Regions from separate parts of the Homo sapiens genome. Here region 2 is linked to region 1. Evidence: promoter capture Hi-C in 16 types of primary human blood cells and fetal thymus (Javierre and others, 2016). All regions are on one chromosome and are shown on one strand. The core of a region is centred on a gene start or on the middle of the fragment in contact, and the rest is flanking DNA. Distances in the headings are between cores, read along the strand shown.

Region 1 (6,175 bases), core at 1,441-3,940:
TATAGTACTCACCACCATATAGTATACATATATTTTCTCTGTTCATTCACTGTTTGTCTCCCTAACTAGAATATGAGCTCTATGAGGATAAGAACTTTGTTTCTGTTCACATCTACATGGTAGATGCTCAACAAATAAAGATTATTAAAGGGTTATTTGTAACAGCTTTCTGACTTCTGAAGGCATTATGAGAATAGCTTATATTTGGGACAGAAAATAATAATAGCAGCTATCATTTATTGAGTAGCACTGTGCTAAAAACTTCATATACTTGCTCTCATTTAATCTTGACTCTTCTACACAACAGGTATTATTATCCCATTTTATTTTATTTTTGTTTGTTTGTTGTTATTTTGAGATAGGGTCTCACACCGTTGCCCAGGCTAGAATGCAGTGGCATGATCTTGGCTCACTATAGTCTCAACCTTCCAGGTTCAAGCAATCCTTCCACCTCAGCCTCCCCAGTAGCTGGGACCACAAGTGCACGCCACCACACCCTGTTAATTTTTTTATTTTTACCTTTTTGTAGTGATGGGGTCTTGCTATGCTGCCCAGGCTGGTCTCAAACTCCTGGCCTCAAGTGTTCCCTCTGCCTCAGCCTCCCAAAGTGCTGGGATTACAGGCATGAACCACCATGCTTGGCCTTATTATCTCATTTTAGAGATAACTTAAGATTCAAGGAAGTTAAGTAACTAGCTCAGCAACACACAACCTATAAGTAAAACAGTTGCAACCTGAACCTTAGTTCTGCCCTAGCTCTAAAGTTGGATAGTCGACAGGTCGTGGGTCAGAATCCATAGAACATCATATGGTTCTTGAATTCCTCCCTCAGAAATCAAGGTCCCCTATATTCTAAATGGACCATTTCCTGATCCAGGCAGTACACTGGGGCCTCTCTAAGCTACATCAGAAGCCCTCTTGGAGGTCAGAGTACCATAACTCCAACCTCATAAGAGCAGGCTGGATGCTGCCTTATTGGTCAAGGTAGGGTACCCCACCCTGCAGTTCTCTCTTGGGTCCCAGTGGGAGGGGAGCTTCACTCACACTGGGGTTCTTGTCCTCATCATACTCATCCATGTGGTAGGTCCTGTAGCCCTCCTCAGCTGAATCCCAGAACCATTTAATCATTCTTCCTCTAGAGGACAGGTAGGAGGTATCAGAGGAGATCATGGCAGGATCACCCACTCCACGGAGCTCTGGCAGCTTCTGGTCCAGTTTTCTGGAGCATTCTCCTTCCAGATCTTCCCCATGGCTACTGCCCAGGTCCTGCATGCAGGTGGGGCCCAGACAGGTGGTGGGAGCCCTGAAGTCCTTTTGAGGAAGGGTGAACATCTGCAAAAAGACAAAACGCACAGGCCTGCTCAAGGGATTTCCATAGCACCAAGCATCAGAAAGGAGTTGGAGTCATGGGAGTCCCCTTTCTCTTATCTGCCCCTTCCTTTAGGTTTATGCACTCATCACTTCCTGTGTCCCTTAGCTGTAACCATATGTGCAACGACTTCAACAAGAAAAATCTGTTAAGGACCTAGTACGTGCCAGGGACTGCACTTGCCACATTGACGTGACTTTAATGTATTGCTGCTTTAGCGTGTTCTACTTCTGCAAAAGTTTTTCACTCTCCAGCCTAAGGGGTCATCAACATTCTTTTTCCACCCTTGCTCACCTCAATTACCAAATGCCAGGTTAAAATTTCCTGAGTTAAAGCAGAGTATTGCCTGGGAGTCCTGGGGGTCTTGTGGTGTAAAGGGTAGGATGAGATTATGTGGTGTTCTGAGGCAGATGGCGGGTAGGAACTGAGGGAAGGGAGGAATGGGAACCTCCACAAGTGCAGGCAACCCAGGCAGAGCTCCAGGGCCTGCCTCTTCAGTCCTGAAGAAACGAGGTGTGGACACCAAGGAGAGGGTGGTCTACTCCTGCCCGCGGGTGTGAACTCCTTCACTTCTCTAAGCCAGTTTAGTTTCCTCATCTGCACAGTGGATATAACAGTAACCACCTCGGGGTGGCCGTGAAGACATAAATATATATGTTAGTGACAATAAAGTACTTAGAACAAATCCTGGCTGATGACCAAAGTTCAATAAAATATGAGTCATTATAGCGTAACTCCTTGCCAATTTTCCCAGTCCTGATGCACAACACAAGCTCTGGTAACACTGGGCGCACCATAAACTCAGCGGGTACCCGCAGTTAAATTTTCCTCCGCAAAGTCTTCTCAGGGGTACTCTTTAAATTGGCTGGGCTCTCCCAAGAGCGCTCACCTCCAGCTCTCCCGACAGCCCAGGTCCGAGGAAGGGCAGCACAGTGGGCGGAAGCCGGGGTGGGAGTAAAGCCTGGGGTAGGGGGGCGGCGGGGTTCGAGCCTCCAGGCGTCCAGCAGGACGGCGGCGAATCCACAGCCAGATACCCGCACTCGATGAGGCCTTGGAATCCCGCAAGTGGGGCGGCTACCGCGCACGAAGAACCGAAACGGCCTTCTACAGGGCGGAGGACGTCTCGCGAGAGACGGCTCCAGGTTTCCAGGCAGAGGAAGTGTGATCGGCGCCAAGGGATTCGAGATGGAAGGGCAGAGGCTTTTGCAAAGTGCACAGAGGGAGGCCTGAACGGCTTCCTCCTCTGCAAAGTAGTGGATCCCACCTACTTGGCGGAGCTGGAGGAGGCGGTGCTGGCACTCGGTGGGCGCCCATCACGTGTAGGTTTTCTCCGCCCGGAAACGCCCTGCGGCGACTTACGCGTGGGTGAGGACAGCGCCCCCCTGCGCTCAGCGCGCCCGGACTAGGAGACTGAGGGCGGTCCGCACCGGGTTGGGCTTCCAGGCCTGTTCAGGGCGCAGTTCGTCCCCTTGCCACTCAGGCGGGGGCGGTCTCGGCGGGGACTACGCTTTAAGGGTGGCACACGAGGTAGCACCGCGGGACCAGGAAAAGGGAAAGGGGCGTAATGCCGTTTCCCACCTCCACTCTGGGTGGCCTGCGCGTGCTGGGCCGCCGCCGGGCCGGGTCTGCCACCTCCTTCTGCCTCCTGGCCTTGGTTCTCCAGTTTTCAAAGGAGGTTAGAGCCACAGAAATTTCTTGCCAAAGTATGCTTGGCTGCGGCCCACACAAAGGGCTTTTTAGATTCGGGTGTGAGCATCCTTATGGCCTTTCATCGCAGTTTGTCATTTCTGCCCCTTTCATTTGTAGGGGATTTTCTGTAGCCCTCATAGGTTCTTAGTTGGGGGAGACTCCTGTTACAAAAGACAAATTAACAAGAGAAAAACAGACAGAAATTTACTGACATGTGTATTTCATTTATACATGAGAAATCTGGAGGGAATGAGTCGTTCTGGAAGAGGTGACTTTGAATTCCAGTTTTTATAGCATCTTCAACAAAGAACAGTAATTTTTTTAAGTTACAAGACAAAGAAATAGGGCTTTGAGTCTCTCCAGGAGGCAACTTGTGAGAAGGCAAAAAAAAAAAAAAAAAAAAAAGACAAAGGCCAGTTAGTCAAGCTTGTTAATGTAAATTCCTCTGGTACCATCTCCAGGCCATAGGGGTCTAAAGTTGTCTTTGTTCTCCTAGGTAGACAGAGGGACAGGATACCTTTTGTCTTTGTAAACCTGTGTCCTACTTTTAGGCAAATAGGGCCAGGGTAGAGAGCTTTCCTGAATGTGCTGCTGCTTGTCTTTAGCACAATCCTTCATGTTTTGGGGAGGCATGTCCTGGTCTCCCACACGTGCCTGCAATATTTGTTGAACTCTGGCTAGGTGTGGCGGCCCACGCCTGTAATGCCAACACTTTGAGAGGACAAGGTGGGAGCATCCCTTGAACCCAGGAGTTTGAAACCAGCCTGGGCAACATAGAGAGACCGTGTCTCTACCAAAAAAAGGTTTTTATGTTTTTTTGTTTTTTTGAGACGGAGTCTCGCTCTGTCATCCAGGCTGGAGTGCAGTGGCACAATCTCTGCTCACTGCAACCTCCGCCTCCCGGGTTCAAGCAATTCTTTTGTCTCAGCCTCCCCAGTAGCTGGGACTACAGGCACGCACCACCACGCCTGGCTAATTTTTGTATTTTTAGTAGAGATGGAGTTTCACCATATTGTCCCGACTGGTCTTGAACTCCTGACCTCGTGATCTGCCCGCCTCGGCCTCCCAAGTGCTGGGATGGCAGGCGTGAGCCACTGCACTCAGCCAAAATGTTTTTGTAAATTAGCCAGACTTGATGACATGTGCCTGTGGTTTCAGCTACTTGGGAGGCTGAGGTGGGAGGATCACTTGAGCCCAGAAGGTAGAGGCTGCAGTGAATTTGATCGTGCCACTGCACTCCCACCTGGGTGTTTGCGAGACTCTATCTAAAAAAAAAAAAAAAAAAAAAAAAAAATTACATACACACACACACACACACACACACACACACACACACATATAATTTCAAAAGTATTTTTCAAACTCTGCCCTAAGCTCTACATATTCTGGCAATGGGTACAGTGGGCACCCAGGTCCCAGGTAGAGCTGCAGTCTCTGAGGTGCCTTGAATGGGAAAGTCTTCTTTCCCCATGAAAGGAAATAAGCAGAATCTCTCAATACAGGTATGGCTGGGAAGACATGGCTGTCTTCTGGCCATTCCACTTCTTGTCTTCACTTTTGCCTTGCACTAGCTAACACTGTGACCTTGAGCAACTCTCATGACTTTTTTGGCCCTTACTGTTTTCTTCTGTAAGATAAGGAAGCGATTATTTTCCTCTATTTAAATCTTAATTCTATGTAATTCACATCTCAGTGAATGCCTGTTATGTGCCAGGTCTCTGTAAAATGCGAGGATACGGTGATGAGCAAGACAAACCAAAGCCTGCATGATTGATTGGGAAGGCCGACTTACAATGTGGGGACTATTTTAAAAAGACTATTTACTGGGTACCATGGAAACATGCAGCAGGGGGATTTAACCCCACGAAACAACAAACACAGGCACTTGTCCTAAGTGGAAGACATACACACACGTTACATTAAATGTGAATTGACTAAAGATCAATTAAAAGATCATCAGACTGGATAAAACAGCAAGAATCAAGCATATGGTGTGTGCAGGAGACACACTTTAAATACAAAAACAAATGGTCAAAGGTAAAAATGTGAAAAAAAACAAGCAAATAATAATCATGAAAAAAGCTGATGTGTTCATATTGGTATCTGATAGTAGGCTTCAAGACAAAAATAATTAACAAAAATAAAATGGGGCATTTTAGAATAAAATGATTAATTTATCAGGGTGACAATCTTAAAAGTTTATGCTCGTAATAACAAAGCTTCAAAATACATGAAGCAGAAACTGACAGAACGAAAAAGAGAAAAGACAAGTTCATAATAATTGGAAAATTTTATACCACTCTCTCGGTGATAGAACAAATGGATCAAAAGACACTAAGGATCAGAACTTTTGGACATTATACAAAAATTTAATCTAATTGACATTTATAGAACACCATCCCCAATACCACAGAATATACTTCTTTTCAAGTGCAAATGAAACATTAAGATAGACCACATGTTGTAAACAAATCTGGCCATAAACTGTCTTAATAAGTTTCAAAGGATTGAAACCATAGAGTACATTCTCTAGTCACAATGAAATTAAAGTAGAAATCATTAACAAAGAAAGCTGAACAGTCCCCAAATATTTGGAAACTAAGTTACATATGCTAAGCAAACCATTGATTTAAAAAAAGAAATCACAAGGGAAATTAGAAAATATTTTGAATGATTAAAAACCAGCAGATCAAAGTTTATGGAATGTAGCTAAAATAATGCTAAGTGAGAAATGAATAGCTTGTAATGCATATATTTGAAACCAACTTAAAACAAATGATCTAAGCTTCCACATTAATAAGCTAGAAAAAAGAGCAAATTAAACCCAAAGTAAATAGAAAGAAATAAAGATAAGAGCAGAAATGAAGGCGAAACGAGAAAAATCAATGAAACTGAAAGTTGGTTCTTTGAAAAGTTCAATACAGTTGATAAACAGTTAGATTGACTGATCAAAAAAACTCATTTTGTTGCAGAATTTTGCTCCTTAGTTCAGCTAAAACCGGGTTCTTGTCACACCACCAGGAAGGATTAGGAACATGGACACATTGAAGGGTGAGGGGAACGGAATTTACTGGGCAAAAAGGAAAAAAGAAAAATACTGTCAGCAGAGCAAGAGGG
Region 2 (6,175 bases), core at 1,622-4,121, 460 kb before region 1:
TCTTGAGGATCTGCCTCAGGTTCTTCTCCACGCAGGAGGAGCAGCCCTCAGACAGGGGTGGGCCGAGGCTGCTGGGGGAGCCTTTGCTGGCTCCCCTTATTGCTCCCCACACCCCACCCGACGTCTACCCCAGATCCTTATGGTTTCAGCTCTGTCTGGGATAGGCCTGGGGCAAGGGAGCCCCCAGAGAGCCTGGGTCAGCTCGGATGAGGGGGCGGGGAGGAAAGCGGGTCGAGCAGAGGTGTGTTTTGAAATCTGCTTCCTTTTGGCCACGCTTGAACTTCCAAGCGGCAGGGTTTGACTGACAGGCGGGGAGAGGGAGAGCCTGCTCCCCACGGAGCCCGGGGCAGAGATGGAGGGGCTCTGCAGGGGCTCAGGCCCGGGGGGCTGCATCCTCTGCCCTTCCTCCCCCTACTCTCAGCAGGGCCTGGAGAAGGGGGTGGGTCTGGGCTCCCTGAGCCCAAAAAGGCCAGGGTTGGGGTGAGGATCTTGGGGTCAGAGACAGAAAAATCTCAGAATCACAGCAGGTCTGAGCCCCTTGGAACGCGTCTGACCACAAAAACAAAAGCACCATCAACAAGGACGGGTATCATTTACTGAACTCCTGCTGCTCATTCGTCAAAAGCTCAGAACATTGCCCTGTGTGCCTCGTAAATGCTGTAGGCATTTGTGAACCAGTAAATAAGGGGAGCCCTGGGACTGCCATTTGTCCTTCCCTCTCAGAAAGCGAACGGATGGATCCTCTACTTTTCCCTGGCCCTCCCCTGTGTCTCGGGGCTGACTCCTGCCAACTGTTGATATATTTCCCAGGCTCCTTTGCCCGCCGGCTTCCTGTTAGTCTTGGCCAATGGGAAGAACTGGATGGAGATCAGCGGGCGGGGCGGAAGGGAGGAGCCAGGGTCTTCCTCCTCATTTCTCTCTGCTTTAGTGGCAACTTGGGAAGTGGTTGGGTCACCGCCAGGGTTCCAGCTCCCATGGGCAGCCCCCTGCCTGACTGTGGTTCCGGTGTCCCACACCTAGTCTGGTTCCCAGGCTTTGGGTATCGGCACTTCCTCCCCGGTCTCTGGAGTCCCAGGTTGTCACAGCTGCCTGCCGCTGCTTGTCGGTGGGTGGCTCACCATCCCCGGTCAGGCCTTTCAGCTCCTCCAACACCTTCCGAACTAGCTCCCTATATCACATGCCCTCTGTTGAAATACCTGACTTGAGTTCTGGTTTCCTAGCTGGATCTTGACTAAGAGAAGCCCCTACTATGTGCCAGGCTGGGATCCCTGCCTTCAAGGAGCTTACAATCTAGTGCGGAAAGGGACGTTTGTCAAATCATCCCATGAATATGCATAAAAGTTCAGACAGCACCCAGTGCTGTGAAGGCCACTGTCGGTGAGGGAAGACCCTAGAGAGGAGGCTTGATCTCACTTGGGGCCTGGCAGGCACCTCGAGGAAGGGATGTATCTAAGAGGTAGTGTGTCTGATGCTCTGTGTACACCATTTCTCAACCTTGGGGCAATCCTGCAAGATCAGGGTCACTGTCCCCATTTTGTAGATGAGGACATGGAGGCCCAGCGAGGAGCACCCTCTGTTGCAGCCTCAGGATCCCGGGGAGACTGGCTGTGACTGGGACTCGGGTCTACCCACTCTTTGCTGCCTACTGTCTGGGACTGACATTTTGCAGAAGAGGGAATCAGCCTAGAGAAGCACAGTGACTCCTCCAGGGCCACCAAGCCAGGGGAAACCAGGTCACCTCGTCCTGGTGTAGATCCTGAAGGCTGCCTCTGCCCTGTGAGATTTCCCATGTCACTGCTCATTTGCACACTCAGCGCTTCCTCCTCCTCCTCCCAAGCTTCCTTCCAATTGGCGGCTGAGGCAGCATCAGAAACCACAGTGCTGGGCCCAGTGCCAGAGCCTCCCCCTCAGTGACCCCCTTCCCACGTCCTGAGTTTCTGAGACTAGCTCTGTCCAGGGGGAAGCTTTTCCAGCCCTTTCGAGCCCACGTGCACTCGAGAGTATGTGTGAAAACGTGCACTTACCTGGAGCATGTCTTCCCTGTGGTGTGCAGCGAGGGGCAAATAGGGCCCTCTCTAAGATTAGCCCCCAACCCCCGCCCCCGACACACACACACACTAATTTCCACAAGTATGGGCAGGACTTTCTGCTGAAGTCATCACAGATGGGTGGAGTTCGGGGGTGCTTGGTATCCTGGGGGTTTTCAGGGCAGTGTAGCCCCTGCACCAGGCGCTGCGTGCCTGGGGAGACACCAACAGCTTGCTGGCTAGGTGGTGGCCAGGCAGGGACAGAGAGCAGGCCCAGAGGGAGCCGGGGAGGCAGGACTCCAGGACATCTGGGCTGGGGGAAGGTGGAAAGTGCAAAATATCCGTGCAGGAGGTGAAGGCCTGGATGTGTAAGGCCCTGAGGTCTCTGACAGGAAGTGAAAACCTCAGGGAACTGGAAGCTTGGCTGGGAACAGGCCGTGAGAGGGAAACTCGGCCACACGGAGAAGCCGGCCGAGGCCTCCTTGAGCAGATGGGGATACTGAGGCTGAGGCAACTGCTTTGCTCAAGGGACTGGGAGTCTTTTTTATTTTCCACCCCACCGTTCCTAGATTAAAGCCAGCTGAGAATATTGCTTCTGTGACAGCCCGATTACCTTGGCCTAAATTTTCTAGTGGGTGAGGAGAGGCAGCACTGTGCTAACATAGCCAGCTTTTTTTTTTTTTTTTTTTAACTTTTTTAGTGACAGGGTCTTACTCTATCACCCGGGCTGGAGTGCAGTGACACAATCAATGACTTGCTGCAGCCTTGAACTCCTGGTTTCAAGCAAACCTCCTACTTCAGCCTCCTGAGTAGCTGGGACCACAGGCATATGCCACCACACCTGGCTAATTTTCCAATTTTTTGTACAGACAGGATCTCATGTTATTTAGGCTTGTCTGGGACTCCTGGCCTCAAGCAATCCTCCTGCCTCGGCCTACCGAAGTGCTGGGATTACAGGCATGAGCCACTGCACCCGGCCACCAGCATTTGTTAAAGTCTCACCACGGATCAGGCTCTCATCTAAAAAACTTGAAGTTGTCATTCTGTGTCCTTACAGTAACCCCTCAAGGTAGGTGTCACTCTCATCTCCATTTTACAAATGAGAAAAGAGGCTAACTAAGGGAAGTTAAAGAGCTTGCCGAAGATCACATAGCCAGAATTTTAATCCGAGGATCTGGAGCCTCTTTTGCGGTGCCATCAAAGGCTTGCTGGCTCCCCCTGGTGTGCCCTCAAGGCAGCTGCCTGTGACTGTCCTGTAGGGGAAGCTTTGCAGATAGGGGACCTTTGTAGATCGTCGATATCCTGGGCTCTGCGCATGCTGTGGTTCCTCTGCCTGAAATGCTCTTCCTGCCTCTTCTTCTTCTTCTTCTTCTTCTTCTTCTTCTTCTCCTTCTCCTTCTCCTTCTCCTTCTCCTTCTCCTTCTCCTTCTCCTTCTCCTTCTCCTTCTCCTTCTTCTTCTTCTTCTTCTTCTTCTTCTTTCTTCTTCTTCTTTTTTTTTTTTTTTTTGATACGGAGTCTTCCTCTATTGCCCAGGCTGGAGTGCAGTGGCTCAATCTTGGCTCACTGCAACCTTCGCCTCCTGGGTTCAAGAAATTCTCCTGCCTCAGCCTCCCGAGTAGCTAGGACTACAGGCGCACACCATCATGCCTGGCTAGTTTTTTTGTATTTTTAGTAGAGACGGGGTTTCACCATATTGGCCAGGCTGGTCTTGAACTCCTGACCTCGTGATCTGCCTACCTTGGACTACCAAAGTGCTGGGATTACTGACGTGAGCCACCGCGCCCAGACTTCCTGCCTCTTTTCTAGTGTCCTGGCCTGCTTTGGAGCTCAGTCTGAAGTTAGCTCCTGCTTTGGGGGTTACCTCCCCCTGAACTCCAGGCTAGGCTGGGTTTCCCTGTTTTTCCTCCCAGAGCACCTGTATATCTTCTTTGTAGCATTCATTCATTCATTCATGTTTCATTCAGTAAGTATCTACTCAGAGCACATGGTAAGTCAGGTGCTGGAGACAGAGCACAAAGGGGTCACAACTCCCACCCTCGTGGTGTGCACTGTCTAGTGGGGAAGACAGGAAAACAAAGAAATGCATAACCTTGTACCAAATACTCATACTCCTACTTTTTGAAAAATCAGGAAAGGGGATGGAGATTGATGGGGTGGTATTTTAGACATGGGGGTCCGGAAAGGTCACTCAGAAGAGGTGACATTTGAGCAGAGATGTGAGCAAAGTGATTTGTCATAGCATGCCTTAATTATTCTCTGAACTTCTGTCTCATGCCTGTCTTTTCTACTGGGCTATAGCTGAAGACAAAATATTTGCCAGTCTTGTTCATGAAGGTATTCCAATGCCTAGAACATTGCTTTTGCACATAGTAGGTGCTCAACAAACGGGCCTTGCACACAGTAGGTGAGTAAATGAGTGAGTGAATAAATGAATGAATGAATGAATGATGGAGGCAGAAAAATCTTTGCAGGCTCAAGTGCTAACTCTAGTCCTGTGCTCCACAACAGTTGCAGACATGTCAATCTCCTCCTCAAAGCCTCCCTTTCCTCCTAAATAGGGAATTAATGGGGAGCTTGACCGATCCTTTGGGACAGGTGTTAAGAATCTCAACTGGTTAAAAAATCTGGACCCAAAATAGATGATTAAGAGACCCAGAAGGCAGTGGGGCTGTGAGGACGTGGAGGGCAAAAAGGCATCCAGTTTGCATTGCTCCAATTCCTCCCCAGACAGCCAGCCTCGATGGACTGTCTGTAGTCCACACTTTTTTTTTTTTTTTTTTTGAGACTGAGTCTCGCTCTGTCACCCAGGCTGGAGTGCAGTGGTGCAATCTCGGCTCACTGCAACCTCCGCCTCCTGGGTTCAAGCGATTCTTCTGCCTCAGCCTCCCGAGTAGCTGGGACTACAGGTGCGTGCCACCACACCCGGCTAATTTTTGTGTTTTTAATAGAGGCAGGGTTTCACCATATTGGCCAGGCTGGTCTCAAACTCCTGACCTCATGATCCACCCACCTCGGCCTCCCAAAGTGCTGGAATTACAGGTGTGAGCCACCACGCCCAGCTGTTGTCCACACTCTTATTTGAGCCAGAGTACCCATCAGGGAGGCTGAGGTGGTGGGAGAAGGCTGCTTCCTGACTAACAGCTGTGCCAACTCCAGAGCTGCAGGTCCAGGCAGGCAGGGACCTCAACCCCAGCACAAAAGGATGTAGAGGGGTAGGAGGCCAGGGTGACTTGGGAGCCAGGGGCTTTATCCTACCAAAGGAAAGGATCTCTCCTGGAGCGAGGTCAGTGGAGTGGGTGTTAGCGAGGGCCTGGGCTTTAGGGAGGCTCATGGATGACCCAAGAGTTTCATGCCTGAAGGCTCCTGTGCTCCCCCAGTGAGAAGGATCAAAAGTCCACCTGCAGGGTCTCAGCATTCCCTAGGTCCGCCCTCCAGAGCTGAGACCTAGCTGAGAGAGAGGAGGTGTGAGAAGAGCTGAGGGGCCTTGGAAAGAGTGTGGGACATCCTAGAACCCTGGCTCAGCCACCTGCTGGCTGTGACCCTGGCGGGGCATGTCCCTTCTTTGGATCTCAGTTTTTCCACTCTGTAAAATGGGTTGATCATCATAAGGCTGACCTCACCAAATTGCTATAAGGATCAAATCAGAGGACATATGTGAAGTCCCATTACTGTGCATATGTGAAGTCATATCACTGAATCTATGGGATGCCAGACTCAGAAAAACAGTAGCAAGGGAAAAAGAGAAAACTTGTTCCATGTTTGCTGATTTTCCCCAAGGCTGGTGCTTCACGGACTTGACAAGCACTTTTGTATTTTGGAATCAGACAGACCTTGGTTTGAATCCTAGCAAGTGATTCTCCAAGGCTCAGTTTTCCTGTCTATGAAATGAATGGATGAACACAGTCAGTAATAAAATACTGAAATGCTGAGCACAGCCCCTGGCTCATAGTAGAGCGCAATAAATGGTTTAGTTAATATCACAGGTTAAAGACGAAGAATAAGGGGGATCCCTGCCTTGATGGACAAGGAGAAAAGCAGGGCCCTGATGAGGGAGCCCCGCACTGCCAGGATGGAGCAGGAGTGTCAAAGGAAGCCTTCCAACAGCGGTGGCACAGGCGCCAAGGCAACAAGGAAGGGTGGGAGCTCT

The links. The method cuts DNA at HindIII sites, captures the fragments that hold promoters and counts their contacts. A CHiCAGO score of 5 or more calls a contact.
Region 2: a fragment that was not itself captured here is called in contact with the fragment with the promoter of ACCS in region 1 in 1 of 17 cell types (endothelial precursors); the score reaches 5.5 in endothelial precursors.

What each region holds. Positions count from the first base shown.
Region 1 is chr11:44,062,785-44,068,959 of GRCh38, reverse strand. It overlaps ACCS (1-aminocyclopropane-1-carboxylate synthase homolog (inactive)), which reads right to left and starts at 2,690. Exons shown (of 15, transcript NM_032592.4): 1 at 2,259-2,690; 2 at 1,045-1,332. The coding sequence starts at 1,332. RefSeq lists enhancers at 2,521-2,710, 2,731-2,820, 2,921-3,050. The HindIII fragment of the contact is 11,098 bases long and covers 1-3,486 here.
Region 2 is chr11:44,520,760-44,526,934 of GRCh38, reverse strand. It overlaps LOC105376646 (a long non-coding RNA gene), which reads left to right and starts at 869. Exons shown (of 5, transcript XR_931232.1): 1 at 869-1,456; 2 at 2,897-3,096; 3 at 4,327-4,432; 4 at 6,000-6,175. The HindIII fragment of the contact is 846 bases long and covers 2,449-3,294 here.